Linked DNA regions of Homo sapiens: all the other regions are linked to region 2. The links are contacts of gene promoters, found by promoter capture Hi-C in blood cells and fetal thymus (Javierre and others, 2016). All regions are on one chromosome and are shown on one strand. Each heading gives the region's core, a stretch centred on a gene start or on the middle of the fragment in contact. The rest is flanking DNA. Distances are from core to core; before and after follow the strand shown.

Region 1 (5,731 bases), core at 1,193-3,692, 2.3 Mb before region 2:
GTGCTGGGATTACAGGCATGAGCCACCACGTCCAGACTTATGTATTTGTTTTTATTCATATGTTCATTATTGTCTCATATAACACAGTTTTAACAGCTTTATTATGGTGTACTTTACATACCATAAAATTCACCTGTCTTAAGTGTATAATTCAAAGATTTTTAGTAAATGTACAGAATTATGCAATCATTGCCACAAAGTGGCAACAGAAAATTTTCATCACCACAAAAAAAATCTCTCTTGCCTCTGCAATCACTGCCCCTTCCACCTCTAGCCCCAGGCGAATTTGTTTTCTAATGCTAACCTTATTAATTAATAATACTAATATAATCTTATTATATAACTAATATAACTAAAACTAATCTGTTTTTCATCTCTATAAATCAACATTTTCTGGACATTTAATTTAAATGGAATAATGTAATATGTGATCTTTTGTGCTTGTATTCTTTTACTTAGCATAATATTTTTTTGACATTCATCCATGTCATAGCAATTATCGCTAATTCAGTCATTTTTAAGGATGAATAATATTTCAGAATATGGATGTACCACATTTTGTTTATTCACCTGTTAATGGACATCTGGGCTGTTTCTAGATTTTGGCTGTTATGCTGTTATGATTATTCCTATTCAAGTCTTTGTGTGAACACTGTTGTCATTTCTCTTATGTAGCTATCCAGGAGTGGAATTGGTGGGTCATAACTGGCCATTTTTAAATCTAAAAAAAGAGAAGAAATGGGGTCTTTGTTTCTTTCAAACTCGAATAAAAGAATTAACTAGGGAATAGATGGTGTATTTCTTTCCAGATGCTGGAATGAAAGATAAGGACACATATTATACTGAATATAGAAGCAAGAATCCATTGACATAAGAAGACGGTAAAGGAAAATAAACTAGTTATCTTCTGAGGAGCAGGTACAGTTAAAAACGAAATTAGGACAAAGAAAGTTGTATAGCAGCAGCTTGGAAGGGAGATGATTCACTTCAAAGGTACAACTGCCACTGCTTTTTATACAAACACATGCTTGTGGGATTATCAAATATATTAATAATGTCTATAAACATTTTTAAGGAAATGTAAAAACTTGAAATTCTTTTGACTACTCTAGATTTTCTGAGAAAGATAGCTATTTAGGCCGGACCCAGTGGCTCATGCCTGTAATCCTAGGACTTTGGGAGGCTGAAATGGGAAGATCGCAGTTTGAGACCAGGACTTTGAGACCAGCCTGGGCAACATAGAGAGATCCCATCTTGAACTTCTGAGCTCAAGCCATTTGCCTGCCTCAGCCTCCCAAAGTGCTGGAATTATGGGCAGGAGCCACCACGCCTGGCCCAAGAGACCCTATCTCTACCAAACAAACAAACAAACAAAAAAGATAATAAGATTTATTGTTTGCATTGATTTTTTGTGTGTAGATGTGTAATACATAAAATGGCAAATGAGGGGGAAAAGTGTTTGGGTCATATTAAACAATGAAGTTGTGAAATACCTGAGATTTTGTTTCATAACCACTAATCTTCAATGTTGAGCATTTAAAATGTATTTGTTCCAGTTTTTTTTCTCTGTAATTCCTTAGACATCTGTGCAGATTTTCATTCCCACGTAAGAAGCAATAACAGACTAATGTCATCCTGGACATTTCCAGGAATTGGTTTCCTAGTTGCTCTGAGGAAGATTGCCTTTTAAAAGAAAGCTCTGATCTGTTCTTTACCAGTTCCACTTGACCTGAATTTGACATTTCTTTAAGAGACAACTAAATCAAGATCATGTGTCTGTGACATGTATTGCATATGCTAGTTAGCTGCATCTGATAGCAGTCTGTAAAAAGAAAGATGATAACATGTTTATTTTAGACATTAGGTAATGTTCATCTTTCATGAAAAAAATTGATTAGCCAATTTTGGTAATCAAAAACATAAATGGGAGTAAAAAAGGCAGTCATTGGGAAGTACTGCTGTATGGACTTGTGAAACAACTAGTTGTCCAGAGCCTTGCTACAACGTATAGAAATATTCTATTTTCTGTATTTGGGGCGGCTACACTACAAGATGAAGACGGGGAAATGTTTTCCAACTCATCGCTCAGGTCCTACTGCAACATAACTTTCTTGAGGTAAGTACCTTTCTTTGTGTTTCCTTAACACTCTCTATTTTCCCCATCACATACACTAAAAAGATTATCTTTGGTGCATCTGTATTTACACAGCAGTGTTAAATTTGGGCTGCCCTCTGCCCCGCCTCCGTCCCCCAGGCTCTTTTCACTCCCCGCTGGGTCCCAGATCCTAGGGTTTAGCTCAGGCTCCGCCCTACTCCTTGGTTGGCTGTTGGGTGGGAGGCTCGTTTCTTCCCTCCCTATTGGTCGCCCAGGGGGAGGCGCGTTTCCCATCTCCTGATAGGCCGCGCCGAGGAGAGTCTCTCCAGTTTGCGGCACTGTTGTCATTTCCGGGGTAAGATGGCTGCAGTCCGTATGCTGAGAACCTGGAGCAGGAATGCGGGGAAGCTGGTAAGCACGTTTGGGCAGATCTGAGGCCGGGAAGGAGTGATTTGTCCGGAGTCATCCAGGAGTGGTGTTTTACTTTCTCCTCCGGTGCCAGGCGTCCAGGGCACGCGTGATGGAGAGGTGAAGGGATGCATGCAAAATAAAGGGCAGAGAACGGAGCGAGTCGACCAGTCTGGAGTGGAAACCCACTCCCTCCCCTTACCTGGAAGCGCTTCTGCAGCGACTCAGCCGTCCTGCTCCATCTGTACCCCGAGGCCCAGCTAGCGTTTTATTGAGCGCCTTCCAGGTGCCCAGGCATTGTGATAGGCGCTGTGGATCCAGAGATATATTCGTTTAGCATTTATTGCGTACCCACAGTATGCCAAACACTGGTAACACGACCCCTACCCTCAAGGAATCTACAGTGTGTAGAGGAAGAGGCCGTTCAAGTTATAGAATATCAGCAGGGGTCCCTGCTTCCGAAGAACTGAGCAGCTCGGCGTCACTCTTTTGCCTTGTACTTCTATGTCCGCACCACATATCATTCCTACCCTTTTGTCACCAAGGCTGTGACCCATCACCATCTCCCCTGCACTTCCTTCTCTTTCTCCCAGTCTTAGCACCAAGCACTGACACATACCGGTAATGATACTTGTTACCCCTATTTGCTTAGTGTTTCTTCTTCCTGCCTCTTCTCCCTTTCCCTAGATGCTCCTGCCTTGGTGACCCCGATCTTACAAAAACTTTCAAGAGCCTGCTATGTACCAGTGCTGTGTTAGGCACTGGAGATACAAATATGAAATAGACATCATATCTTCCTTCTCAAGAGATTACAACCTTGTGGTGGAGGACAAAGGAGAGGGAGACAGATAGAAATTACAACCCAGCATGAGAGGTACTGTGATGGGACAAGTGCCTAGAACTACAGGAACACACAGGAGTGGACACCTATGGTGGACTTGGGGGTCAGAGGAGTTCCCAGAGGATACTGTATGACTTGAGATGTAAGAAGGATAAGTAAGAGATAACCAGGAGAAGAGAGCTCTTCTCAGCAACACTTAACACATATTGGTCTCTCTTCTTTCTAGAGCTTTCCATTCTTGTTTTCTGTGACACCAGTTTCCCAATATTATTCTTTCTTCATCTTTGGCCACTTCATCCCAATATCCTGTTTCCCTTCCCGCCTTTTAAATATTGCTTTTTCTAAAGGGCTCTGACTTTGGCCCTCTGCACTTTTCCCACTTTCTGGGTTATCCCATCCACTCTTTGGCTTTAGTTACCATCTATGCTGATGAGTCCTAAAGTTCCCCAGTCTTCCAACCAGGTCTACTCCAAACCCATATATCCTACTGTCCTGGAAATCTCCAGTTTCATATGTACGTGATGTTTTCCAGCTGCAATTAAAAACCCAACCAATAAATAGGAAATTAAGTATCCATGCATACAGAGCATCCCCAATTAGATGTCAGCTCACATTAAGTGGCTTATGATTATCAATGTCGTCATTTCCCTAGTAGTTCATTTGTCCTTTTCCTACTGTATACAAGAGGGCTGCTACGACTTCTTCTTTTATGTTGAAGGCAGGAAGGTGGAAGAGGAGGAGGTTCCAGTCTCACTGGCCAGAACTGTGTTACATGGCCCCGGCTAGCACAAGGGAGCTTAGAAAAACTTGTCTTTTTTTTTTTTTTTTTTGAAATGGAGTCTCTCTCTGTCACCCAGGCTGGAGTACAGTGGTGCGATCTTGGCTCACTGCAACCCCTGCCTCCCAGTTTCAAGCGATTCTTTTGCCTCAGCCTCCCAAATATCTGGGACTACAGGCACACGCCACCATGCCCAGCTAATTTTTGTATTTTTAGTAGAGACGAGGTTTCACCATGATGGCCAGGCTGGTCTCAAACTCCTGACCTCAAGTGATCCGCCTGCCTTGGCCTCCCAAAGTGCTGGGATTACAGGATGAGCCACCATGCCCAGCAGAAAAGCTTGTCTTTAGTCTTCTCACAGTGTCTGCCGTAAAGCTTCAAAGCAGGTCAGACTCTCCAGCCTCTAGAACTGAACCCTCAAACCAGTTTCTCTTAATTTTTTTTTTTTTTTTTTTTGAGAAGAGTCTTGATCTGTTGCCCAGGCTGGAGTGCAGTGGTGCAATCTCGGCTTACTGCAACCTCCACCTCCTGGGTTCAAGTGATTTTCCTGCCTCAGCCTCCCAAGTAGCTGGCACTACAGGCGCGAACCACCATGCCTGGCTAATTTTTGTATTTTTAGTAGAGACGGGGTTTTGCCATGTTGGCCAGGCTGGTCTTGAATTCCTGACCTCAGGTGATCCTCCTGCCTTGGCCTCCCAAAGTGCTGGGATTACAGGCGTAAGCCACTGCCCCTGGCCCAGTTTCTCTTGATTTGAGCCTGTAATTCTCTCTGAAGAAATCTAGTCATGATTTTTCCACCCTGCCCTCAACTGGAGGTGTCTTGGCCCTTCTTAACTGGATTATATGCCTCCAGTGGTCTTGTAGTTTTTCCAACCCATTCTCCATAGTGTAGCCAGAGTGATCTTATAAAGTAAGAGACATTTGATAATATCATTTTCTTGTTTAAAACTGCCTTCAGCAAAATGTCCAAAATTCAAATGACTATGAGGCAATTTATGATCTGGACCTTTCCAGTCTCTTAGATCTCATTCCTTACCAAAACCTACCCATCCCAACCCCAACTCTGACACTTCCCCACCCTTATTCCACACTAAACTACACTAGAAGTCTGTTGAACAACTTGAGTTATTTGCACACACACTGTGCTTTCTGTCTCAACTCCAGACCTTTGCACATGTATTTCCTCTGCTTTAAAGACTCTTGCCTTACTCCACTGTGGCCTTATCTGCAACATACCTCATCCCCGGGGTTACACCTACTCATCCGTCAGGTCTTACTTCAACATAACTTTCTCCAGCTAGGTTCCCTTAACACACTCTATTTCCTTCATTATAGCACGTGTTATAATCACCGGTTTACTTGTCTTTACCTTTCACTGTACTGTGCATTCTATAAGGGAAGAAATTGCATCTGTTTTGTTCTCTGTATAATCCCAAGTGCCTGGCACATTGTAGGTGTGCATAAATATTTTTTAAATGACTCAGTAAAAAAAAAAGTCAGGTTTGTAAACTCTTCTAAAAAGTTGTAAGCAAAAACAGTTCTTACCCCCGTAGTAAATTATTAAAATAGCCTTATAATGTTGTGTTTTACATTTCCCTAGGACATAATG
Region 2 (5,958 bases), core at 1,679-4,178:
TGGTGCAAATGCATTTGCAGTAAAAGCTTTAAACAGCTTGCATTATTTACAGGTACAACTGTGCTTAATGTGCAATTTCAATGAATTTAAAATATTATTAGATTAAATCACTGATCACAGAGCATAGGTGTGGCACGTGAGCAATGTGATTAGATGCCTTAATTAATATGTCAGAACAGGATACATCTGTTTGATGAAGTTGGGGGGGATGGTAAATAGCATTTAAATTTTATATTTGATTATTGACTATCACCGATGAAACTCTTATCTTTGGAAAACCACCGTATATTGGACTTATCCTCTATAGTTGTTTAGGAGAATTATAACAGAAAACGAATATGAAAATACACTGTATAACTCTTAAAGATAACTTGGATTCTTGTACACATAAATTAACTATCAATTGCTAACTGATAAGATGTATGTTAAAGTGTAACCTGAAAGAGCAATAAGCCTGTATCCCTGTAAGTTAGGAAATTGAACATTGAACCTGACTGATTAAATTGGGGAAGAAATCATATGTATTATAATTATATATATTATATTTGTAAATTTATATATGTTTATATGTGTATATCTTTTCTCAATATATACATATGTGTGTATATGTATGTATGTATTTGGGTGTTTATATGTGTATTTATATATATAGACTGATAGAAAAATAGATATAGATAGATTTATCTATCTCTCTATATCTCCAAGAGGATCTAGAGTAAGTGGGTAAGGTGTGGTTGTAGGGAGATGCAGGAACATCTGACTTTGGAACATTACTCCATGAAAAGATAAGTAGTTATTTTGACCCATTTTAACTACAAATTCATTGATAGATATTGTGACCTATTTCTCAGCAGTAAGTAGGACAATGAGAATATGTGATGCAGAGAAACTAAAGTTTCTAAAATGAACTGCCCAGTGTATAAACGAATGTACTCTGTTCATTCAATCACCAAGTGTTCTTGGTCTCTTATGCTTCAGTCCTGAGCTAGGAACTGAGTATCCAGTAAACAATAAAAGTACACATGGGCCCCCTCTTCCTGGAGCTTCCTCTCTAAATAGAAGACATATATTAAATGAATCACATTCAAATAAATATTTAAACAACATTTGAAAAGTCTATGAAGACGAAATATAATGAAAAAGACAGAGTGGGTGTAATTTTGTTGGTGATGGGGTTAGATCATAAAGGCTTCAGTGAGACCTAAATGATGAGTAGAAGGGGAAGAAGAGCTCCAAGTGGAGGGCAATGTGCAAAGGTAGAGAAGTGGATGGAGGATGAGAAGATTACCTTGTGGTTGGAACATAATGAGTCAGGGCAAGAGTGGCGGAGAAGCGGAGTAGAGCAGGTTATTCAGCGGTTACTAGGGAGTTTGTATTATATTCTGACTGCAATGGACCATTGAAGGATTTATACCATGGGTACCTGGGTGTGTGGATGTATCGTTGTATGGCATGAGCCAGTTAATACTTTCTAAAGCTCAATCTGGTATGGATATGAGGTAAGAATAGAAGCTAGAATACCAGTAGCTTGGACCATGGTGGATGCAGCAAAATGGAGAAATGAATGATTCAAAATCTATTTAGGAGGTTGACTTCTGAGAGTTTGGGCATAGATTAAATGAGGCAATAAGGATAAAGGAGTCAAAGATGATTCTAAGGTTTCCATTTAACTTTCTAGTGTCTGTTAATATTTGATTCAAGAAAAATGTATCTGTCTTTTAGTAATTTCCAGGTTCTGGAAGGTAATCTGATGGTTTGTTCAGAGAAGCCTTCTCAACCACGCAAGGTACCCATACCCTAGTTATTCTGTCCTATTTTTCTTTTATCTTACAAGCAGGCATCACATTTTCTTACTTGCTTATTTTGAGTATAATCTCCATGACAGTGATGTGTATTCTTGAAGACTATATCCGGAGAACCTAGCACAGTGTCTGTGTCTGGCATATTGAAAATGCTCAATAAACATATTCGTTGAATAAAACGATGAATGGACTAATGAAAAAATAATAAGGGAGAAATACTTGACTCCAAGGTGTCACTACCTAGCCAAGTGCATGAAGGAGTGCCGCAAATGTCCTAACGGAAGTAGAAAGTGTTATGGTAGAAGAGAGGTGGGATGCATCTAACAGGGGTGGGGGGGGGGCGGGGAGAAAAGGAGAGAGGTCTGGAGTACACATATCCTCAAAAAACGAGGTGAATGTTTTCTGGATTGGGACCAACTCTACAGGAAATCTCTCCCTTCTCCTCAGCAAGCTCTAGAGCAAAAACGAAGAGCAACTTTTCAAAAGAGTTTCACGTTTTAGAATAAAAAATATTTAAAAAAATAACCATTAAAATGAGACTTTCCTGCAAAAAGACAACCTTGATTATGTACCACCTGCAGCACTTCCTGTATGCTGCTGCGGGCTGTGGATGTTTTTGCTCGCCTCCCTCCCCTCCCCGCTGGGGCTGTGAACTCTCAGAAGACCGGTGCTTTGGTATCCTCCACTGCAGCTCAAACCCCGCCCACCTACTTGGTGGATGGATGGAGGAACATCTACTATTTCATCCTTGAGGAGTTCCTGAAAATGCAGTTGCCCCTCAAACAATGTATCTACATCTCGCGGGGTTTCTGTGGAAGAAAAGAAAAAGTGCAAGTTGTTGCTTGGAGCGCGGACTGCTTTTACCTTTGCCTGGGGATCCCTCCTATCTGGCCCCGCCTGCCTAGCTCTGTTTTTAGCAGTTTAGAGATTAAAGGCCAGTCCCCAGAGCGGGTGCTCTACTCCCTCCCTCCCTTCTGCTTGCAGGCTGGGGCGCGGAGCGGGCTGAACTGGGAAGGCCGGGCTGCGGCTGCCGTGCCTGGCGCGGGAGCCGCAGGACCGAGAGCGCAGCCCCGCCCCGGGGGCGTTGCCGCCCCGCGCCCGCTCCGCCCCCGCGCCGCCGGCCCTAGTCTGCCTGTTTTCGACTCGCGCTCCGGCTGCTGTCACTTGGCTCTCTGGCTGGAGCTTGAGGACGCAAGGAGGGTTTGTCACTGGCAGACTCGAGACTGTAGGCACTGCCATGGCCCCTGTGCTCAGTAAGGACTCGGCGGACATCGAGGTACGGACTTCGCGCCGGCTCGTCGGTGGTGGCGGGGTGGTGGGGAGTGCTCTGCGGGTAGGTGCCGGGGAGGCCCCCGCGGCCCCCGCACCCCGGAGAGTGAGAGACGCGGGAAAGTTTCCCCCGTGGGAGCTCTGCGGGGGAGCGGAGGAGCGCGGAGCCACAGGCCCGCGTGGGCAGGCGGGGAGCTCAGGGGAGGACTTTCCGCTACTGGAGGGGTTGCCCTTTGCGTCGGGACCTGTTTACTTCGGAAGAGATTTCAGGAAGCCTGTCTTGTCCTCCTCTGAATGTCAGTGACTGAAGAAGCACTGGAGTTCCAGAGAGGTGGACTCTAGGGGGTAGGAGTGCCCATTTCCCACACGTTCTACCCCTTCACCTCCTGTATGTCGTTTCTGGACACCTCCACTGCCCCCATTTCCAATAGCTGAATCCTGCTATTTGCAAAGGTGAAGCATAGAAATAAAACATCTGTGTGTCAGCTGTAGCAGTCGCCTCTAGTCATAGTATTGTTTATGAAATAATTTAACATGGAGAGAATGGAACGAAGTATTCAGAACATGAAAAATGCAGTGCCCTCAGAAAAACTAACTGTATTTTTCTCTCCTCTCAACGGTTTTTGATTCCCTCTTGCACTCCGTTTCTGTTAAAAAAAATCTTTTTTTATGTAAATAAGGTCCTACCTGAAACGACATGGCATTTCCTTTCTCTCTAGTATCTTAATATATGCGATGAAAAGGATTTAATTATCAACAGTGATTTTACACATACTAAACCTAGGTCAGCACTTTTGAGCTAAGACAAACTGATTTTTAGTTTTCTGTTTTGTTTGGGGCTTTTCTTTATTTGAGTCTTCTACTCTGGTAGAAAATTATGTGTGTGTGTGTTTTCTTTAGAAATAACAAAATTTTCCTTTCGTCAGTCCTTTTGGCGGCTTAAGTAAAAGTTTTGCAAACCACCTGTTTGCAAAATAGCTGCTTTTGCCACATTTTGCCTCCGTAATTGAAGAAACTTTATATTCTGGGAGGAAGTAGTCCTGTTTTCTCCAGGCTCCATAACTTGGTTTGAAAAATCATTTTAGTAACAAGAGCCAAAGTGTATTATGTGGACATCTCTGGTTAGTTTACTTTTGGTTTCTGTTTTGGAGAGTTGACTTTTTGATATTGAGCAATATGATATATTTAACAAATAGTTGTTCATCTGTGTGCAGGATAATAGATACTTGTCTTTTTCTATATTTCATTTAGGGTAGTCTATTCCTTTTTGGTCCTTGTGACTTTGACTTAACTTTTTAAAAAATTTTATTTACTAAGTCGAAAAACAAGCTTCTGACAGTATTAAGGCAGTATTGATTTAAGATATCGGAGTTGACTTAGGATGGGTGGCTTTTGGCTCTTTAATTTCAGAATGGTGTGTTATCTGCTTAACTGATTTCTTTCTCTGCAGTTGTCTTCGAAATCAGTTCTTACATTCTACTGAGGAGAAAGATGCCAGTGAAACATTGAATGCCAAGCTTGATTTCATATATTGTTTCAACTAAGAACATTTAAGAAGCCCATCCTTCCCACTCCCTCCACTCAATTCAACCTTAGTCTATATGGCCAGTTTGCCTAATATTACTTTTAATCTAGATTGCTGGTGTTCAAACACCTTCAGCTCTTATGTAGTTCATATGTGCAACACTTTAATCAGTAACATCTTTCATCACTCACAGCACCTTACTTTTCCCTCAAAGTAATACCCGTGATTCATGAGCTAGAATACCATGAAAGAGCATGAAATTAATCATTAAAATATAATGCAGTGAGGAAAAATACATTAAGCTTAGGGGAGCACATTCAAGCATAAATGCCTCAGTTGATCCTATTGATTTACCAAAGTTCATTTTTGTGTTGAAGAATTAGAATGAATTATAAAGGCTCAGTTTTCCATCAAATTTGAATGCTTTTCTTGAACAAATTCATTACAACCATTGTCTAGAGATCTGATTGTGATCATTGTTTTAGCTTCAAATACATGGATAAGCAAGTAATATTTTAAAAATATTGGTATGAAGCAGTTAATGAATGTGATAAGAACACATTGATAAATGTGAAAAGTACTTGACAATTGTTAAAAGAACAGAAGGTGATGATAACAACCTACTCTAATAGTGACTGACTTTTCCCTATGAGCTAACTACAGAACCTCAGGTTTCAGTGAAACAGCCAAGAAATATCTTTGTTTCTGGGGGAAAAGTTATTGAGGTATATATAAAGGTGCTTTGTGTGCCTGCTTCATAATTTCTAGTCTGAATCCAATATCACATCAGGATTTGACGGTTAGGAACATGGAAAACAATCAGATCACCAAACTCCATAGCTGGAATATCCCTGGGCTGGGAGATAGGCAAGGAAAGGATGTGTTACTTGGTAATAGGACCTAGCTCATTACTCAGAATTGTTGTTGTTGTTGTTGTAATCATAGAAGTTGCATGAGAAATCATGTTTTTTTTCAGATATATTAATGTGGTTCAGAGCCTGGCTTCTGAAACCAACTGCCTCTGATTGAGGTCTAACTTTAAGCTGTGTGTTTGGGCAAGTTAGCCTCTCTGAATTGCACATGGAAAATCTGCTAAGGATAATAAACAAATGTCACAAGTTGACAGCATCTTGTTGGGAAAAAGGACAAAAATGTTAAAAAATAAAGATAACAGAAAAATATATCTTATTCTCAGGAAAATCACTTCCAATGAAATGATTAGCATTTTAAAGTCCGTTAATAGTAGTTATATGCTTTTAGAAGTTATTTTGCTTTGTGAGTGTACTGTTTGGATACAGTCTGAATTTTGTCAACGATGACTTTAATACAAACTCTCCTGGGATGGTTTCAAAGAAGGTTAGT
Region 3 (6,063 bases), core at 2,104-4,603, 2.2 Mb before region 2:
TAGAATGTTAAAATGTAAAAATAAAGTTTCTTAGAAACAATGGAACATGGCATTTTAACCATTTGGATGTGCCATATTTTACTGGCTTTGCAACTTTTTACTATCAGTTACATCCTACTCATTCCTAAGTTACATCACTTAATGACTGGGAATACATTCTGAGAAATATATCTTTAGGTGATTTTGTCATTGGGAGAACATCATACAGTATAGTAACACAAACCTAGATAGTATAGCCTACTGTACATCTAGCCTATATAGTATAGCCTATTGCTACTAGGCTGTAAACCTGTACAGCATGTTACCATACTAAATACTGTAGGCAATTGTAACACAATGTAAGTATTTGTGTATCTAAACATATCTAAACATAGAAAAGGTACAGTAAAAATACAGTATTATAACCTTATGGGACCACCATCATATATGCGGTCTGTTGTTGACTGAAATGTCATTATGTGGCACATGACTATATGAACTGGGAAAAAAGAAAGGAAAATTGATAATGTTGGCAATTCTACCCAATATTCCACATGAATCTGTATAAATAGGGGTCATATAACAGTTAAGAACACAGGCCAGCCAGACTGCCTAGGTATGATACCCAGCTCTACCTACCAGCTACGATCCCTATGACCTTAGTTAGGTAGGCTTACTGCCTCATCTGAAAGATGAGAACAAAAATATGTCTTACCTTCTAAGGTTTGAACACATTAAGTGAGCTAATAGTTAACAAAACAAAACTGCCTAGCCCAGTGCTGTACATAGAGTAAGTGGTGACTAAGTGTCTGCTATTATTATTCTTTTAAAAATTTATTTCTGTTCGAATGTGCCTCTCAGCATGTCCATGAAGCTATTCACACTGAATTTCATGGGAAAGCTAAGAAATTTTTTTTTTGAAAATACTATATATTCAATAGAAGAAAAAGAAAATACTGTATATAATTTCTTCCTTATTGCTGACTTTAAATCCTAACCTCCATGTAAAAGACTATTCTAACCCCCAGAGCCTAACTGTAGCATAGGAAAAAAAAAGCACATTTAAAATTTATTAGTTGAATTTAGAAACAGGAATTCTCAATCTTGGCACTATTGACGTTTTGGGCAGGTAATTCTTTTGAGGGGGTGAGTGCAGGGGGCTGTCCTGTGATTTGTAGGAGGTTTAGCAGCATTTCTGGTCTCTATCCATTAGATGTCAGTGATACTCCTCAGTTTGACAACCAAAATGTCTTCATTTTGCCAAGTGTTCACTGGAGGCAAAATCAGTCCCAGTCGAGAACCACTGGGTAAAAATGAGTGGTGTCATCACAGCTATATATGACACTTAGAAAAAAAGATGGAAACACAACATCCAGTTACATCATAAATTACAGATTCAGGAGGATAGCCACAATTTAAAACGAGATAGTAGTCAATAAAAGTGTTTCCACTTGATGTTTTGCGGTCTCTCTTCAAGTGTCTAATGACAATATGTCGTTCCTCTATAGGAATACTAATCAGCTTGTAAGGATTTATTCATATTCTACTATCATCACTATTTGTTTTCACCTTCCATATATCTGGATAAGGTGGAGTCTAAATCCTTCTCCTATCATAACTCTCATTCTTCAACAAGGGATGTTTGCCAGTCCCCTCAAAACCAGTCAATAGACTATGGGCATAATTCAGAGTTCCCACAACAAATCACGTCTCCCATATTCCAAAACAAGAATGTCCTTGTTTCAGTATGCTTCACTTTTGGTAAATGCCAGTCAAAACAAAATAGGAAGTAGACTACAACTATGATGGAGAGTGGCAGATGAAGGGGGTCAGGGGACTGATCTGCACTGGATATTGTCTAGAAGAATAAATTCCTTAAGAAATAAAATAATGCAAATAATACTGAACATTCAGAAGCATGAAATCTGATGCTGATCGCTTTGGTTTATTCTTTATAGTTCTGTGGAACTATAAGGACATGCTCTCTTCCTATGAGCATTTTGCTCCTCTGGTTTTTATTTTCCCATCTCATATATATCCTAAAGTAATATACATATATACAAATATAAAGTGTTTGATAGTACATTTATATGCATAATTATCAAACAAAATTGTATGCTTTGTTCTCAATTGTAAAAGGTCAATTCGTATATATTTAAAAATCTTTCCTTCCCATTCCAGCAAAGTTGCATTCTTAAAAACTGTAAGTCGAAAAAAATTTTTTTTTCTTTTTTGAGATTCAGTCTGGCTGTCACCCAGGCTGGAATGCAGTGGTGTGATCTTGGATTATTGCCACCTCCACCTCCTGGGTTCAAGCGATTCTCCTGCCTCAGCCTCCCGAGTAGCTGGGGTTACAGGCTCGCACCACCACGATTTTCTTAATTTTAGTAGCTCGCGCCACGGCTGATTTTCTTATTTTTAGTAGAGAGAGGGTTTCATCATGTTGGCCAGGCTGGTCTCGAGCTCCTGACCTCAAGTGATCCGCCCGCCTCGGCCTCCCAAAGTGCTGGGATTACAGGCGTGAGCCACCGCGCCGGGCCTCAAGTCTAAATTTTTAAAAGAAAGTTTCTTCCAACCGCATTCACGAGAAGTGCTTCTCTTTCATGAAATAACAATTAGAACACAACTAGTGAAACCTTTGGGACTTCAATCACTACTTTTTCTAAACTACCACTTTCCAGCAGGAAGACGGAGCGGTAGCTTGGGGTAAAAATTAAAACCTAGCATTACCATGAGTTAAGATCGAGATAAATAGATCAAAATAAATGGGTCACTGCTGGCGCTTTACTTAGAAAAATAAAAAATTTCTCATCACTAGAACTCATAATCGCTCCGCAAGGAGGGCAAAACTGGGTTTATTAAAGTGAAAGCTGGAGAATCCAGGGGACACAAGCAGAAAGCTGTCAAAGAGGGGAGGGGCCGGGTTCCAGCACCGACAGGACCAGGATACTTATTTCCGACTCTTGAGAGAGTAGGGCGATACCACACCTCCGCGGCTCCAGCGTGTTCACCACAAAATCTTTTCCCTGCGGCCACCACCATCCTGCAGAACCGTTTCTTCTTTTCCACATAGTAACCGCATCTACCCTCAGCTGGAAAACCAGGCGCGTGCGGCGACGTCGCGGAGGTCGCCATAATTCTAGGGCTCGCTTCCGGTGTCCAGCATCCGGCAACCAGAAGAAAAGTTAGAAGCTTCCTTCGGGTCTCCTTCCCTTAACAAACATGGCTGCCTCAGCCCCCGCGCCACACAGGTTAATACCCGGAACTACCACAACCGTCTTCCCTTTATCCTCCGCAGAACCGGAAGAATCCGATGGTGGCTGGCGAGGGCCAAGTCTCTTACGCCTTCCCCTCGTTTCTCCCTCCCCGCCTCCTCCGCAGAAGCCGAGCGCCAAACTCAAACTTTATCAGGACCCGGACCTCTCAGGCTAATCCCGAGGGCCGGGCCTGTTGGGCTTTTCTGCACACCAGCCGAGGCAGCGAGCCAACATGAGCCAAGTGCTGTTCCACCAACTAGTCCCGTTGCAGGTGAAATGCAAAGACTGTGAGGAGAGGTAAGGTCCGCGTCATCCAGTGCCCGCGGGTGGCGGTTGGGGTCAGGCCAATGGGGAAAGATGGCGGTTCTGGCCCGTGGGATCCACCTTGCACCTAGGTGTCGAGTCGGCCCCCCTAGGAAGCGGATAGGGAACCCAGAGGGCCCGGTGGTTACCTCTCTCACCAAGTCGGCCGTTGCAGAGGGGACTGGAGGAAGGGTGTGAGGAGTTAGGAAGCCGGCTCACATCAAGTTAATGTCAAAAACCCTACCTGTGCACGGAATCGTGAAGATTATAGCCCTACTCTTCCCTTTTGACAGATAAGAACTCTGGCCCAGAGAAGTTAAAAAAATTTACGTGAGGGCTCACAGCCAGTTCATGGCAGGGTCAGGACTAGAACTCAGGCCTTGGCTCCGAGCCTTTCCCCCTCGTTCTCTTTTGAAGTATGTTGGCAGTAAAGTTCAACTTTTAAAAACCTACCAATTTGGTGGCGTACTTTGGCTCTTCACATCAGTTGCTTTAAAAAAGTAAATTACATTTAACCGACTAAAAATGAGAAAAGCAGAAACGTCATTAATTCATTCAATAAATATTGCCTCCTTGTAAAACACCTTACTGGGCACTGGGAATACAGTGGTCAGGAAAAACAGTCCTTTTCTTCATGGAGTTTACAATCACTGGAGGAAATAAAGACCAGTCGCACAGAGAAGTGCAACTTTGATTAAGGAGGTGGTATTATTGGGGCGTAAATAGATTTGACCAGAGGTCAGGAGACTTACTTTTTTTTTCTCAGTTCTAACACTCAATGGTTGTCTCTTTTTTTCTCTGAACGTTCTTTCCTCATTTGTAAAACTGATATAACATGCGTATTCACGTGTTTGTAATGAGGATCAGGTGTGAAATCTTTTGCGTATTCACGTGTTTGTAATGAGGATCAGGTGTGAAATCGTATGTGAAAACTAAGTGGTGTACAAATGTAACATAAAAAATGAAGACATTGCCTTATTGAGTTGCCAGTAATGTCAAACTGTAGTATATATAGTTCAGAATTCGGTCAAAAATCAATGGCAAGCCGGTCAAGGAGATGGTCCCAAAACCAGCAGCTGCATATGGAGATCTGTAGGTTTAGTTGATCATTCTTTTAATGCTGTCCAGTATGGTAGCCACTAGCCACATGTGGTTATTAGACATTTGAAATGGGGCTTATCTGAATTGTTGTGCTTTACATATGAAAATGCACGTTGGATTTTTAAGACTTACTATGAAAAAAGAATGTAAAATATGTCAATTTTTATATTATGTGTTAAATGGCAATATTTTTGGGTATATTGGGTTAAATACAATGTATTATTAAAATTAATTTCACCTGCTTTTAAAAGTCTTTTTAAAATGTGACTTCTAGAAAATTTAAAAGTAGGCTAGGTATGGTGGCTCACACCCGTAGTCCCAGCACTTTAGGAGGCCAAGACAGGAGGATTGCTTGAGCCTAAGCTTGAGGTTACAGTGAGCTACTATTTGTGCCACTGTACTCCAGCCTGGGTGATAGAGCGAGATCCTGTCTCTGAAAAAAAAAAAAGAAAAAGAAAAAAATTAAAATTACATACCTGGCTCACATTTGTGGCTTACATTGTATCTCCATTGGACAACACTGTTTTAGAATGATTATAGAAAGATAAAGGAGGCCATGACTTTGGTTTCAATATGGAAACTCCTAGATGGTCTCTTTCTGGTTACATTGCCATCACAGTTAATCTAAAAACTCAATTTCTCTGCTTAGAAACCTTTAATATATTCCTATTATCTGTATAATAGGGGTCAGCAAACTGGAGCACATGGGCCAGTTGGCTCACTGTTTTCGTAAATAAACTTTTCTTGGAATACAGCCATGCTCATTTGTTTACATATTGTAGCTGCTTTTGCACAGGAAGGGCAGAGATGAGTAATTGTGACAGAGACCTTATGGCCCGCAAAGCCTAAAATATTTGCTATCTGGCCCTTTACAGAATAATTTGGTGATCCTTGACCTATAGGAAGAACAACCCAGACTCTCTCTCTTTCTCTCTCTCTTTTTTTTTTTTTTTCTAGACAGAGTCTCGCTCTGTTGCCCAGACTGGAGTATTGTAGCACGATTACAGCTCACTGCAGCCTTGACCTCCTGGGCCCAAGGGTTCCCCTCACCTTAGCCTCCTGAGTAGCTGCAATTACAGGCGCATACCACCACGCCTGGCTTTTTTTTGTTGTTAATTTAATTTAAAAGAGACGGGGTCTCCCTGTATTGCCCAGGCTGGTCTTGAACACCTGGGCTCAAGTGATCCTCTCACCCCAGCCTCCCAAAATTCGGGGATTATAGGCGTGAGCCACCACGCCCAGCCCAGACGCCTTGGTTGAGTATTTGAGGCCAGTTCAGCTCAACAAATACTGGCAAATGTCTGCTGTGTCTCAGGAACTGTCCTAAGTGTGGAGGATGTAAATACGCACCCCCCTCTCCGTCCCCAACAACAACAAAAGCCAACAAAAACCTCTTTTCATTCTGTCCCTCAAGGAACTCACA
Region 4 (5,829 bases), core at 1,277-3,776, 2.7 Mb after region 2:
CTTCAAATAGCTGCCTCAGGCAGAAGTAATTATCAATAAAGAGAACAGTGGAGACAGAGAGGGAGATGGTGAAGAATTATCCAATCAGAAGAGGGATGACAAGAAAACACTAAAAGTGAGTAAACCCCTTCATATGGATTTTAAACAATTGTTTCAAAAGATACAAGTCAGGCTGGGCACTAAAAAGAAAGCAACTCCATTACACTAATAGGTGCATAGTGCCTGGAACATAACAGTGCCCAATGAGTGGATGTGAGTGGATGAATGCAAGAAGGAATAAATGGAAGTCAACTCCCTGTCCTTCAGTGAATAACACACCCAATGGATATCATGAAGGATCTTAATCTTAAATGGTTTTCTCACAACATCCAGCCCATTTTTAGACTACTTTTTTTTTTTTTTTCTGAGACAGAGTTTCACTCTTGTTACCCAGGCTGCAGTGCAATGAATGGTGAGATCTTGGCTCACTGCAACCTCCGCCTCCCGGGTTCAAGTGATTCTCCTGCCTCAGCCTCCCGAGTAGCAAGGATCACAGGCGTGTGCCACCATGCCCAGCTAATTTTTGTATTTTTAGTAGAGATGGGGTTTCGCCATGTTGGCCAGGCTGGTCTTGAACTCCTGACCTCAGGTGATCTGCCCGCCTCGGCCTCCCAAAGTGCTGGGATTACAGGCATGAGCCACGCGCCAGGCCTAGACTACCTTCTTAAAGGTTAACCAATTTATGGTCAGAAAGCCAATTTTAATGGTAGCTACAATATAACATTAGAACGATAAATCTCATGCCCCAAACATGTACATAATGTATCTGAAAGCTAAGTGAAAACTGAGTCACTTTCTCATACATGGCAGTGTTTTTTCTTTTTTTTTTATTCAATAGAAGCCACATACAGGGACAGTAAGTTTCACCTATCATCAAAAAATAGTCAAAAGAACCTCTCTACACTGTAAGCTCCTAGAGGCCATGGGTAGCGGTGTCTCTGAAACCCTGACAAAGTCTGTAGGCAGCAGGGATTCAATAAATGTGGGCTAAATGACTAATAAAGCCCTCAAGAGCTTGTTTAAAAAAAAGTATCAGAAGGCCAGGCACCTGTGGCTCACGCCTGTAATCCCAGCACCTTGGGAGGCCGAGACGCGCGGATCACGAGGTCAGGAGATTGAGACCAGCCTGGCCAACATGGTGAAACCCCGTCTCTACTAAAAATACAAAAAATTAGCCAGTCATGGTGGCAGGCGCCTGTAGTGCCAGCTACTCGGGAGGCTGAGGCAGGAGAATGGTGTGAACCCAGGAGGTGGAGCTTGCAGTGAGCCGAGATCGCGCCACTGCACTCCAGCCTGGGGGACAGAACAAGACTCTGTCTCAAAAAAAAAAAAAAAAAAAAAAAAAGGCCGGGCGCAGTGGCTCACGCCTGTAATCCCAGCACTTTCGGAGGCCGAGGCGGGCGGACCACGAGGTCCGGAGATCGAGACCATCCTGGCTAACACGGTGAAACCCTGTCTCTACTAAAAAAAAAAATACAAAAAATTAGCCGGGCGTGGTGGTGGGCGCCTGTAGTCCCAGCTACTCGGGAGGCTGAGGCAGGAGAATGGCGTGAACCCGGGAGGCGGAGGTTGCAGTGACCCGAGATCGCGCCACTGCACTCCAGCCTAGGCGACAAAGCAAGACTCCGTCTTAAAAAATAAAAAATAAATAAAATAAAATAAATAAAATTCAGCCAGGCATGGTGGCACGCGCCTGTGATCCCAGCTACTCGGGAGGCGGAGGCTGCAGTGAGTCCAGATGGATCCACTGCACTCCAGCCAGGGCAACAAGAGAGACTCCACCTAAAAAAAAAAAAGTATCAGAAAAGCAATCAACTTGGAAATAGAATGCAGATAAAGTTGAGGTTGAGCACTGGATAAATGAAAAAGTTCAGTCAACAAACATTTACCTACTACCTACCAGGTGCCTGGAGTCATTACCAAACAGACCCTGCCCTCCTGCAACTTAAGACCTACAAATACCCGTGTAGAGTTAGAACCGGGGAGTGCTCTCGGGGGGGCCTAGGGCATAGTGCTTAGGAAGGACACAGAACAACGAGGGGGCGTCAGCACAGGCTTCTTTATAGGGTGAGATCTGAGGGGTGGGAGGCTGGGGGAGGGCCTGGGGGTGCGCACGCAGGGGCCCCCGGCTCCGGGAGCGGGACCGGCGGCAGAGGCCCCAGTGGGCCGCGCCGCTCTCTTAGTGTTTCTGGGGTCGCCTCACACTCCCGCCCGCTGCGACACCACTCCGGCCTCCGGGCGTGTCATTCCATCATTCAACTAACCCGGTCCCCATACGTGGGCCCAGGCGGGGTGCCCAGGCTCCGTGGTGGGGAGGAGACGCAAAGCGAACGCGGGTGGCCCCTGAGGGCGCCCTGTCCCTCCCGCGCGCGGGTAGTCACCTGAGCGGCTCAGCACCTCCCACTCGTGGGGCCTGCAGAAAATCGCGGCCAGGACCGAGAGCTCCTCCTGCACAGGCTCCGCCATGGCTGTGGGCCCCACCGCCTCAGCGCTTCCCCTTCCGCTGCCGCAGCCGCCGCCTCCACCGGCCAGGAGCAGCACTGCCCGCGGCCACCCGGGGGCGCCCCGCGCCTCCGCAACCGGGCGGGACGGGGGCGGGGCGAGACGGAGCTGGGGCGAAGCGAAACGGGACGTGGGCGAGGCGAGTCCGGGCGAGGGTCAGGGCAGACGGGGCGGGCGGGGCCCTTAGAAGTTCCGCCCAGAAGCTCCTGCTCAGTAACTACAGACGCGAAGCTCAGCCTCTCGGTTTGGGAATTTTCTTGGAGGCCGAGGCCCTGCGCCTCTGTCTGCACCCAAGGCGACCGCCCAGCTTACCCCCGGCTCTTCTGAGCACAGGGAGGCCTCCCAGCAAAGCCTGAACCCTCTAAGTTTAGCTGCAGGCTTCGAACCCCGACCGTCCCCGCCGAGCCTTGGGCTGCTGAGGTGGGGATGAACTGGGCGAAAGACACTTGGGAGTTAGGAAGAAACAAACAAGCAGGGAAGTGACCAGGAGACAAGGTGAGACTTTGCCCGGCTCAGGTCTGAACTGAGTGTTGGAGATAACCACAGTTAACAAAATAAACAAAATTATTCGCCCCCGTGGAGCTGTTAGCAACCCTGGTGCCTGGGAAGCCTGGAAGAGGCTCGGGTTAGTAACAACCTCCAGGATGCCCTCCGAACTGGTACTGGCGCCGGGACTCTAGACAAGGTCCAGATTCCCGGGCCCTTCCCCTTACGGGTGCAAAAAGGGAGGGTCAGGACCTGCCAGTCCTGGCTTCAGGATGTTGACTGGACGGACCTGGACTCATGGGAACTGTGCGCCAAAGTCCTGGGAGCAAAGTGTCATAACGCTCCTCGTTTGTCTCTTGCCTTCACAGGAGACAGCCCTGCTGCAAGCGGCCAGTGGGAATCCTTGGCCTTTGGGGGTATGATCCAAGAATGTAAACGCTAGCTTTTCAGTGTTTTCGATTTCGTGATATTCAATGCATACAATACAATGTGACTCTTGAAGCTTAATAATAAAATTATCATTCTTGAGCCCAGCACCTAAATTTTAAAATGTGAGCAATACCAATAGGGTAACAGAATAAGCAATCCATTCTGTTTTGACTATAGTGAACAAGATTACAAGACTTATCTGCAGTTAGGTCTGTCTCTCGGATGTTTGCCTGGTCTTTTTGCTGTTCAAATAACAGTTTAAAATTTGGCAGTCCCCACAAGCAGCTGGTCTTGCTCATGGAGTTCTCACAACTTTTGTTTGTATGAGAAATCACATTTCATGAGATAAATCTGGGAATTTAGGTTGTTAGGCAGTGACTCCAGTCACTGACCTACGGAAGTCAGAACAAAGTTGGCTGATTTTAAAACCCTGCATCCATTCACCATTACCATTCCCGCTGTTGGTAAAAAAGGAATCTGATAAAGGAAAAGATACTGGCTTCCCGGAACAGAAAGGAAACCTAACAAGATGGACTGCAGGGAAAATGCTTTTCAGAAGATGCCATGGGATTTCAGTGACCCCGAGTAATTAGGAGCACATAATTGGGAAGATGAAGGCTTATTTAAATGCAGTTATCTCTGATATGGCCAATTGGCTTGAAGAAAAAAAAAACTCCTTTATTTCCAAAATAACAGACGTTCCAGCAGTTCAGTAGGTTCATAATTAACTGCTAAAGAGATTGAACAAAAGAATACGTTTTTAATTTAAAATATTACTAAGTTATTTTAATTCGAAATCCAGTGTTACTATGAAAAGTCAAACAATTTGGTTTTTGACTTATTTATTGAAAATAATCTATAAAATAGGCTGGGCGCAGTGGCTCATGCCTGTAAGCCCAGCACTTTGGGAGGCCGAGGCGGGTGGATCACCTGAGGTCAGGAGTTCGGGACCAGCCTGACCAACATGGTGAAATGCTGTCTCTACTAAAAATACAAAATTTAGCTGGGCGTGGTGGCAAGCACCTATCATCCCAGCTACTCAGGAGGCTGAGGCAGGAGAATCGCTTGAACCCGGGAGGCGGAGGTTGCAGTGAGCCGAGATCGCACCTTTGCACCACTCCAGCCTAGGCAACCAAGCGAGACTCCGTCTCAAGAGCAAAAAAAAATCTATAAAATATTCAAATAGTTTTTACTTATTTTTAATTTTCCAAATTCACTATAAGTGAGATGAGTGAAATAACATGAAGAGCAAAATTACAGCTGTAGGAAGGATTAGGAGGCAGTTGCTAAAGCCTGCTGTCAGCAATAGGTCCATGAAAATTGATTAAAGAGTACATCAATCTATGATTTAAAATTTTCTTGTCAATAGGTTTCTTCTTTGCTCTTCCTTTCTCAGTTGATTTCTTAATCTGCTTTTCATACCTCATTTAGCATGTTTAAATAAAAAAGAAGTCAATGTGAATGTCTTTTAAATTGACACTATCCTAAGGCACTGAAGTCCCATGAATAAGTTTCTGCACTCTGACATTTGGAAATAATCATCTCAGAGACTGCATAATGTCAGCTTGATATTTCTTGCACTGTGAAAATATCAGCTACATGTCAAATCTCTAAAGTCTACCTTAATGTAATAAGTTTCCTCGTATTCACAGGCTACTGAAAATTCAAAATATTTAAATGTAGGATGAATGTCTACAGTTAGAGCATTGTCTACCTCCATCTCTCTCTCTCCCTTCTCACCCTTACACACACAAAGGTGTATGATTTGCTAGAACAATTATTATTTTTACAAGTATTATTTTTACAAGCAAATTTTCTAAATAGTTGCTTCCCCAAGACCATAAGGGGAAAAGGTTTAAAACCTTTCACCTTCAGTTAAAACCAATAACCCAGAAGATAGTTCTTTTCATTTTGGGGGGAAACAGTTCTACTCACTTTCTCATGAGTAGTATGTAGACTTACTCAACTCTGAGTTTGAAATCTTAAGTCAAAACTCACGTGAGCATAGAAATGAGAATGCACAATTTCAAGTGTATTAGGAGAGTTAAGTGTTATGTCAAAAAAAGGTGAGGATCCTAATACTGGAGTGGAGTGTGATAAGAAAAAATATCAAATCAAAACTGAGAAAGGTAAAAGTACTTTCATGAACCACCAAAACAACCAAAAGAGGGCTTAAATGCCAACTTCCTAAATAAATCTGAACTCCAAGAACCTGTGCTACTGGTTCTGTCTAAAGAGTTTCTGCATTCGCATACTCATTTCACAAAATGTTCTTAGACACTCACTGATTGTTGGCCGGGCTCTGCAGGCTGAGTGTGGAGAGGTGGAGAGTTAGAGATGAAAACAAGTCCATGTTTCCAGTGACTACAGCCT
Region 5 (5,777 bases), core at 366-2,865, 3.0 Mb before region 2:
CCAAGCATTATATAAAAGTATACATGTCACAAAACCTGGTGATATTACCTGTCAATGTTTGATCTCAACAGAAGATCAAGGACAGCGATTTTCTCTGAAAATGGGTCTTAAACAACAGAGACTAAGTCTATTTAATAAATAGAAAACAGGTTCTTAATCTAGAGTCCAAGATTTAGTACAGGGAACCCAACAACATCCTGAAGCTTTATGTACAATTCTGAGTATTGGCTTTCATCAGATTTTTGAAGGAGTATGGGATCTAAAGACAGAATTAGTACACCTAGGAGTGTGACAGTCTTGTTAGCAGAACAACTTCATAAGACCTTAAGTTACTCAACAGCAAATACCTGAATAATAGTAACTTCACTGCCACAGAGTTACACACTAGATTTTCCTCCTCCTAAGGATGTTTCAAAAAAAACAAAAACCCTCAAAGGTGCCACCAAAACCCAAGAAATGTTGTTTCTAGAAACTATATGGGATTTTTACATCGCAGTTAAGACTACAGGAAAATCATGAGACAGTTTCGGCATTAAAGAGAGAAGAGAATGACACATATTCCTCCCGATATCACTTTATAAAACCTCCCATTCCAAGCCCCAATAACAAACTAAGTAGAACATCTCAGATATACTCTCTCAGAATCTTAAGGGTGAAATCCAAATGCCACTCCCCCCCGAGAGAGGCAGCAAACAAGTTTCTCCCAATTCCAACAAAGTGGGTAAACCTAAGGCCTACAATTAGAAATGAAAGATTCTGCCCATCTGCTAAAATAAGGAGGGGCTTGTCAGTCTTGTCTGATGGAACTGGAGGGGAGCGTGACAAGAGAGGTTGCACAGGATAGGCCCAGATCTTACTCAAGAACTGTAGCCCTACCAGATTGGTGTGGGTATGAGAAAGCAACTCAGCAGCAGAGGTAGGTAACAAAGGTAGGACCTGAACCTCCTAGTGAGGAGCTACGTGGCATTAAGCAAACAGTGCTTCGTCTCCCTCACACCCAGCTTCCGCCCAAACCATTTTCCCCTTTGGTTACCAGTTGCTCCAGATGCCGTAGAGTAGTTCCACAAAAGCGAAAGAGAGGTTCAGGCACAGGAAGAAAAACAGGTTCCGGGAAGTCTTGTCGGACAGTATAGACCTGGGAATGATACACGTGGAAAAGAGCCGGGAGAGTTAAGGAGGTGCCGGGACCCCGAGGCTGGGTACCCTCTTCAAGACCCTCCCAGTTCACATGCTCCTTTCTTCACAGCTAGGGGTTGACGGGGAGTTTTTGACTCTCCCTCACTGGACCTCGGGCCATCCTGAGGTCTGGGCCTTCTCCCTTTCTGCCGGACACCCCCTCCCCGCAAACACAGCACCCCGCACCTAAACCAGCCCGAGATCTTGCCGAACAAATTGAACTTGGGTGGTTTGTATTCATCGTCTTTGATGGACAGGGGCAACATCTTCTCTGCCCGGCGAAGGGCCGGGTCTACTCCCCTCTAGAAGTGGCTCCGTGGGGTGATGGCAGTGACAGTAGTGACGCCTCAAACGGGAATCCCCAGCGCTTGTCCGGGGCCGCGCGCCGCTGCGAGACACAGACAGACACAGACACACACCCGGGAATTCGCTTACTTCCGGCCCGGGCCGCGCAACGCGTCCTGGGACAGGAAAGGAGGGAGGCCGGTCGCGGGCGGGGCCTGCGCGGCGGAGGGCGTGGCTTGCGGCGGGGGCGGGATGAGAAAGGTGCTGGAGCTGTTGGAGGGACGCCAGGAGGTGGCAACTACCAGGGGGTGTGAGGGGCTGACCTGGGATGGAATCCTGCCACCCGGACTCAGGAAGAAAATCCTGAGGTGGCGACCTGCAGACTGGGCTGGGAGATGGAGAGCCCGCTCACGCCCACCCGACCGCCTACCACCAGTGTTCCCGGATGCATGGGCTCCAGCGCCTGCCCTTTCGCCATTTCCTCCCAACTGGCATTAAATCCTGGTGTGGTAGATATCAGTGATTAAGAGTCTAGGCAGCCACGTGTTCTATTGCCGCCAGTCCGCAGGAAACGCAAGTGATCGTTTTGCTGCGTTAACTCTATGGGCGCCCAAATCTTAGGAATCCATTCCACGCCACCCCGAAAACAGCGCTTGACCCTTCTGGACTGCCACGCAGGAGGCGATCAATGTTTTTCTTTCTTTATTTTTTTAAGAGACAAGGTCTCGCCCTGTCACCTAGGCTGGAGCACAATGAGGCTCACTACAGCCTGGAACTCCCGGACGCAAGTGATCCTCCTCAGCCTCCGGAGTAGCTGAGACCTCAGGCGTGCGCCACCATGCCTGGCATCAATCAATGTCTTTCAAAATAAAGGCTGTTAAACGTAGTATAGGAAAGAAGCTTTTTAATGGTAGGTTCTACCAGACGTGTTTGTTTGATTTTTAGGTTTGGTTAATGCATTGTTTCCCGTACAATCTCAACCCGCGGAAACCCCGAAACTCTAGAATTCGTGCCGGTCTCTTTCGCTTCCAGGTCATCCCCGGGGCAACGGCCGCCGCTCTAATTCTTGTCAGAACCTCCAGGCCAGTTTCAGCAACGTGCAGGCAGAAGCTGGCCCCTCGGTGGGATGCGAGGGCGTGTGGAGCGCGGGGAGGAGAGCCCCACAGGCCTTTCCTGGGCACCCGCGGTGGATGGGAAGGCTCCTTCGGGCGCCTTTCAGGGAAGTTGTTTGGCTGAGGGAAGGTGGTCCGTCACGTGAATGTTTAAAAGTTGTTACCTTGGAGAAGAAATGGAGGAAAGGATTGGCTTTCGGAGGTGGGCTGGAAACTACAAAACCGAGCTTCCTGGGAATGCCTTTTAGGCCGACAGGAAGTGGAGCGTCACCGAAAGGGAGGGGCGGCCACTCGGGGACTGTCCCTTGCTCCAGGCGCTCACTTTGCGGGCGGCACTTTTTCCAGGTTGTTAATCCAGCTAATGGAGAAGGATAGATGCACGCTACTTGGTTTAGAAAAAAAAACAAAAATGAGCAAACGAGACGCCCCTTCCGTTTTATGATAACTAAGCTGCAGGGAAATAAATCGGCTGGCCCTACTGCAATCTACTGCACTCGAGGTAAGGAGACACAGCAAAATGCTCCAGTATTAGTATTTTTCTTTTTGTAGTGAGGATATATGCATGTTTTGCTCTCGTTCTGAGAACTTTGTGTGTGTGTATGGAGTATTCGGTGGTTTTATTTTTGAAAATATGTACTTATTCTACAATTTTGAAAAATGTTAATTAAAACTGCTGTGTAAAAACAGCTAGGTTTCAGAAGTAAGTTCTGGGAAGAGTATTTTGTATTTGCCTTTGTTAGCGTATATTTCATTCTTTTAATTTAAGTGTAGAAATATTTAAAATTAGTAGCATTTACTCTTTTTTTGGAAGGAAGTTTTTGTATTAGCAGTAGACCTTGAATTTTACTCTACTGCACTGCTGAGGAAAAATTAATTGGGTGCAAACTAGATAGTTTAAAGATAAATAATTCTATGGTAATTGGATTTTTCTCCAAAACGCCCTTATTCAATATGATTTAACTTGGGAGAAGGCGGGAGAAGTAATAGAAATAATTAAATTTCAGCAACTGATTTCCAGCATAATCCTAACTCATCAAGGTCAGCTGCATTTTGAACTTTTTTGTATTCTGCCTTTGAAAATAAGTCCTATATTTTATACTGTATTGCTACAAATCAGAAATCGCTTAAGTGGTTTATGGAGAAACCTACATTACCTCTTTTCAAATAGTTTTGAAATGGGTACGAGAAATTGAAGTTTAATTTCAGTTACATCAGTTTCCAGAGACTCCCAAATTCCCCCACTCCCCATCCCCCAAGATATATGATAGGTATTCCCATGAGGACCTTCTCCTTTCAAAAAGTGATGGTGATGTCTTCACATCTTTCAGTCTTAAAGAGCATAATGACCAAATTTAAAACTAAAGGCATTTTATTTGCAATATAAAAGTGTAGGTGGACACTATTTAAATCAGGAAAAGTTCTATGAGTGAAAAACGTCAGGCTGTGCCTCACTTCTTTTGTCATTGTCAAATAATGTTTGTCCCATATATGTTAACCTATCTTTGTTGTCATATCAAATTTGTTTCTTTCATTCATTCAACAGTCATTTAATGAATGTCTTCTATGTGCCAGGCTCTGTGCTGGGTGCTGGGGATACAAAGCCAGATAAATAAAAAGTTCCTTCCCTGGAGGAATTTTATGGAAAAGAGTAGTTATGAAGAAAGGGGGGGGTTGTGACAGGCAAATCAGTCTCGTCTTTTAGAACTCTGTGATGTTTAAAATTTACACAAGGGATGCCCTTGGAGCAGTGTGAAGGGACAGCTGTCACTCAGTAAGTCTTTCCATAAATACTAAGCCATTCCTTTTGCCCTTTCAATATGTCGTATTGGAAAATCAAAAATGATTCTTCAACTCTGTTCAAATGGTATCTTGCAAGTCACCAATCAGAATTCTTAATTCCTTTGTATGTTACAAGATTAAATCGGTTTATAAGATCATAAAATACATATACTATTGAACATTTTTAAACTAAAAAATGGATTTCTACCCTGAACTTTTAAATATGTTTTTATATCTCTCCTACCAACTAATTGCATTAGGTTAGCTATGCAGACTCTATGGGTGGAAAAACCCCAGCTGCTCAGACGTGTGACTGAGGATTCTGAGAAATGAAAGCAGAGAGAATTAAGGGGCAGAAGCTCATTTCAGTCATGGTTTCAGCTCCTTTTGGGCAATGGTCAGCAAGGAATAGGAAAGATGCTATCTGTCATTCCTCAGTAATCAACCCTGGCATTTATCTGCAACCCTGTTTGACCCTTTTAGATGCTTCAAATTGAGCGCCCTGGGAACTGCTGGTTAAAAAAGGAGTTGTAAAGGTACATAAGAATACAAATTCATATAAATCTAGAAACTGGATACAAGTGCAAATTGCTGACATGTTCAAATGTTTTGCTCCATGGCATACATCCTCTGGTTTCAAATGTGTAACATTAGATAGTTGGGATCGTGTGCATTTATTTTGCTTCTGGATCCTTATATTAGGGTTCTCTGGAGGGACAGAACTAGGATAGTTCTGGTAGGATAGATGCGTATATGAAAATGAGTTTATTAAAAAGAACTGACTCAAACAATCACAATGTGAAGTCCTACAATAGGCCATCTGCAAGTTGAGGAGCAACAAAGCCAGTAGTGGCTCAATCAGAGTCCCAAAACCTCAAAGGTAGGGAAGCCGACACTGCCGCCTTCAGTCTGTGGCCAAAGACCTGAGAGCCCCTGACAAACCACTGGTGTAAGTCTAAGAGTCTAACAGTCAAAGAACTTGGAGCCTGATGTTCGAGGGCAAGAAGCATCCAGTACAGGAGAAAGATGAAGCCCAAATACTCAGCAAGTCAGCTTCTCCCACCTTCTGCCTGCTTTTCGTAGCCAGGCTGGCAGCCAATTGGATGGTGCCCACCCACATTGTGAGTGGGTCTTCCTGAGAGTGGGTCTTCCTGTCCTAGTCCACTGACTCAAATGTTAATCTCTGCTGGCAACACCCAGAAACACCCAAATACACCTAGAAACAATACTTTGCATCTTTTAATTCAATCAAGTTGACAATATTAACCTTCACAAGTCCATCCCTTGTCAACTTGAACCCATACACATTTCTTGAAATCATACCTAATCTCCAAATAAATGAAACTGCCTTTGCAAAAATTATAACTGAGGAAATTATGACAGTGAAAGATATCAGACCTAACCAACTCCGTCTTGCTTCTAACC

What was found. Contacts are between HindIII fragments. The CHiCAGO score rates a contact against its expected background, and 5 or more counts as called.
Region 1: the fragment with the promoter of DBT here is called in contact with the fragment with the promoter of DPYD in region 2 in 1 of 17 cell types (neutrophils); the score reaches 6.4 in neutrophils.
Region 3: the fragment with the promoter of SASS6 here is called in contact with the fragment with the promoter of DPYD in region 2 in 1 of 17 cell types (total CD8 T cells); the score reaches 5.0 in total CD8 T cells.
Region 4: the fragment with the promoter of RWDD3 here is called in contact with the fragment with the promoter of DPYD in region 2 in 7 of 17 cell types (total B cells, total CD8 T cells, activated CD4 T cells and 4 more); the score reaches 7.1 in total B cells.
Region 5: the fragment with the promoter of SLC30A7 here is called in contact with the fragment with the promoter of DPYD in region 2 in 4 of 17 cell types (non-activated CD4 T cells, naive CD4 T cells, fetal thymus and 1 more); the score reaches 7.3 in non-activated CD4 T cells.

What each region holds. Positions count from the first base shown.
Region 1 is chr1:100,246,545-100,252,275 of GRCh38, reverse strand. It overlaps DBT (dihydrolipoamide branched chain transacylase E2), which reads left to right and starts at 2,442. Exons shown (of 11, transcript NM_001918.5): 1 at 2,442-2,506. The coding sequence starts at 2,456. RefSeq lists a silencer at 2,223-2,322 and enhancers at 2,433-2,552, 2,154-2,713, 2,714-3,273. The HindIII fragment of the contact is 8,889 bases long and covers 1-4,463 here.
Region 2 is chr1:97,918,004-97,923,961 of GRCh38, reverse strand. It overlaps DPYD (dihydropyrimidine dehydrogenase), which reads left to right and starts at 2,928. Exons shown (of 23, transcript NM_000110.4): 1 at 2,928-3,078. The coding sequence starts at 3,040. RefSeq lists a silencer at 2,723-3,122. The HindIII fragment of the contact is 4,374 bases long and covers 29-4,402 here.
Region 3 is chr1:100,130,220-100,136,282 of GRCh38, reverse strand. It overlaps SASS6 (SAS-6 centriolar assembly protein), which reads left to right and starts at 3,353. Exons shown (of 17, transcript NM_194292.3): 1 at 3,353-3,533. The coding sequence starts at 3,469. It overlaps TRMT13 (tRNA methyltransferase 13), which reads right to left and starts at 3,120. Exons shown (of 11, transcript NM_019083.3): 1 at 2,968-3,120. The coding sequence starts at 3,114. RefSeq lists silencers at 1,136-1,430, 3,568-3,731 and enhancers at 2,906-3,435, 3,446-3,565, 2,970-3,572, 5,346-5,395. The HindIII fragment of the contact is 1,832 bases long and covers 3,174-5,005 here.
Region 4 is chr1:95,230,907-95,236,735 of GRCh38, reverse strand. RWDD3 (RWD domain containing 3) reads right to left here and starts at 2,526. Exons shown (of 4, transcript NM_015485.5): 1 at 2,421-2,526. The coding sequence starts at 2,505. TLCD4-RWDD3 (TLCD4-RWDD3 readthrough) reads right to left here. Exons shown (of 8, transcript NM_001199691.1): 7 at 5,742-5,829. It overlaps RWDD3-DT (RWDD3 divergent transcript), which reads left to right and starts at 2,754. Exons shown (of 4, transcript NR_125949.1): 1 at 2,754-3,036. RefSeq lists silencers at 2,066-2,245, 2,456-2,785. The HindIII fragment of the contact is 4,366 bases long and covers 1-3,531 here.
Region 5 is chr1:100,891,928-100,897,704 of GRCh38, reverse strand. It overlaps SLC30A7 (solute carrier family 30 member 7), which reads right to left and starts at 1,615. Exons shown (of 11, transcript NM_133496.5): 1 at 1,363-1,615; 2 at 1,034-1,135. The coding sequence starts at 1,442. EXTL2 (exostosin like glycosyltransferase 2) reads left to right here and starts at 2,863. Exons shown (of 5, transcript NM_001033025.3): 1 at 2,863-3,072. RefSeq lists enhancers at 1,111-1,270, 1,321-1,570, 2,121-2,190, 2,085-2,807, 2,808-3,531. The HindIII fragment of the contact is 2,158 bases long and covers 206-2,363 here.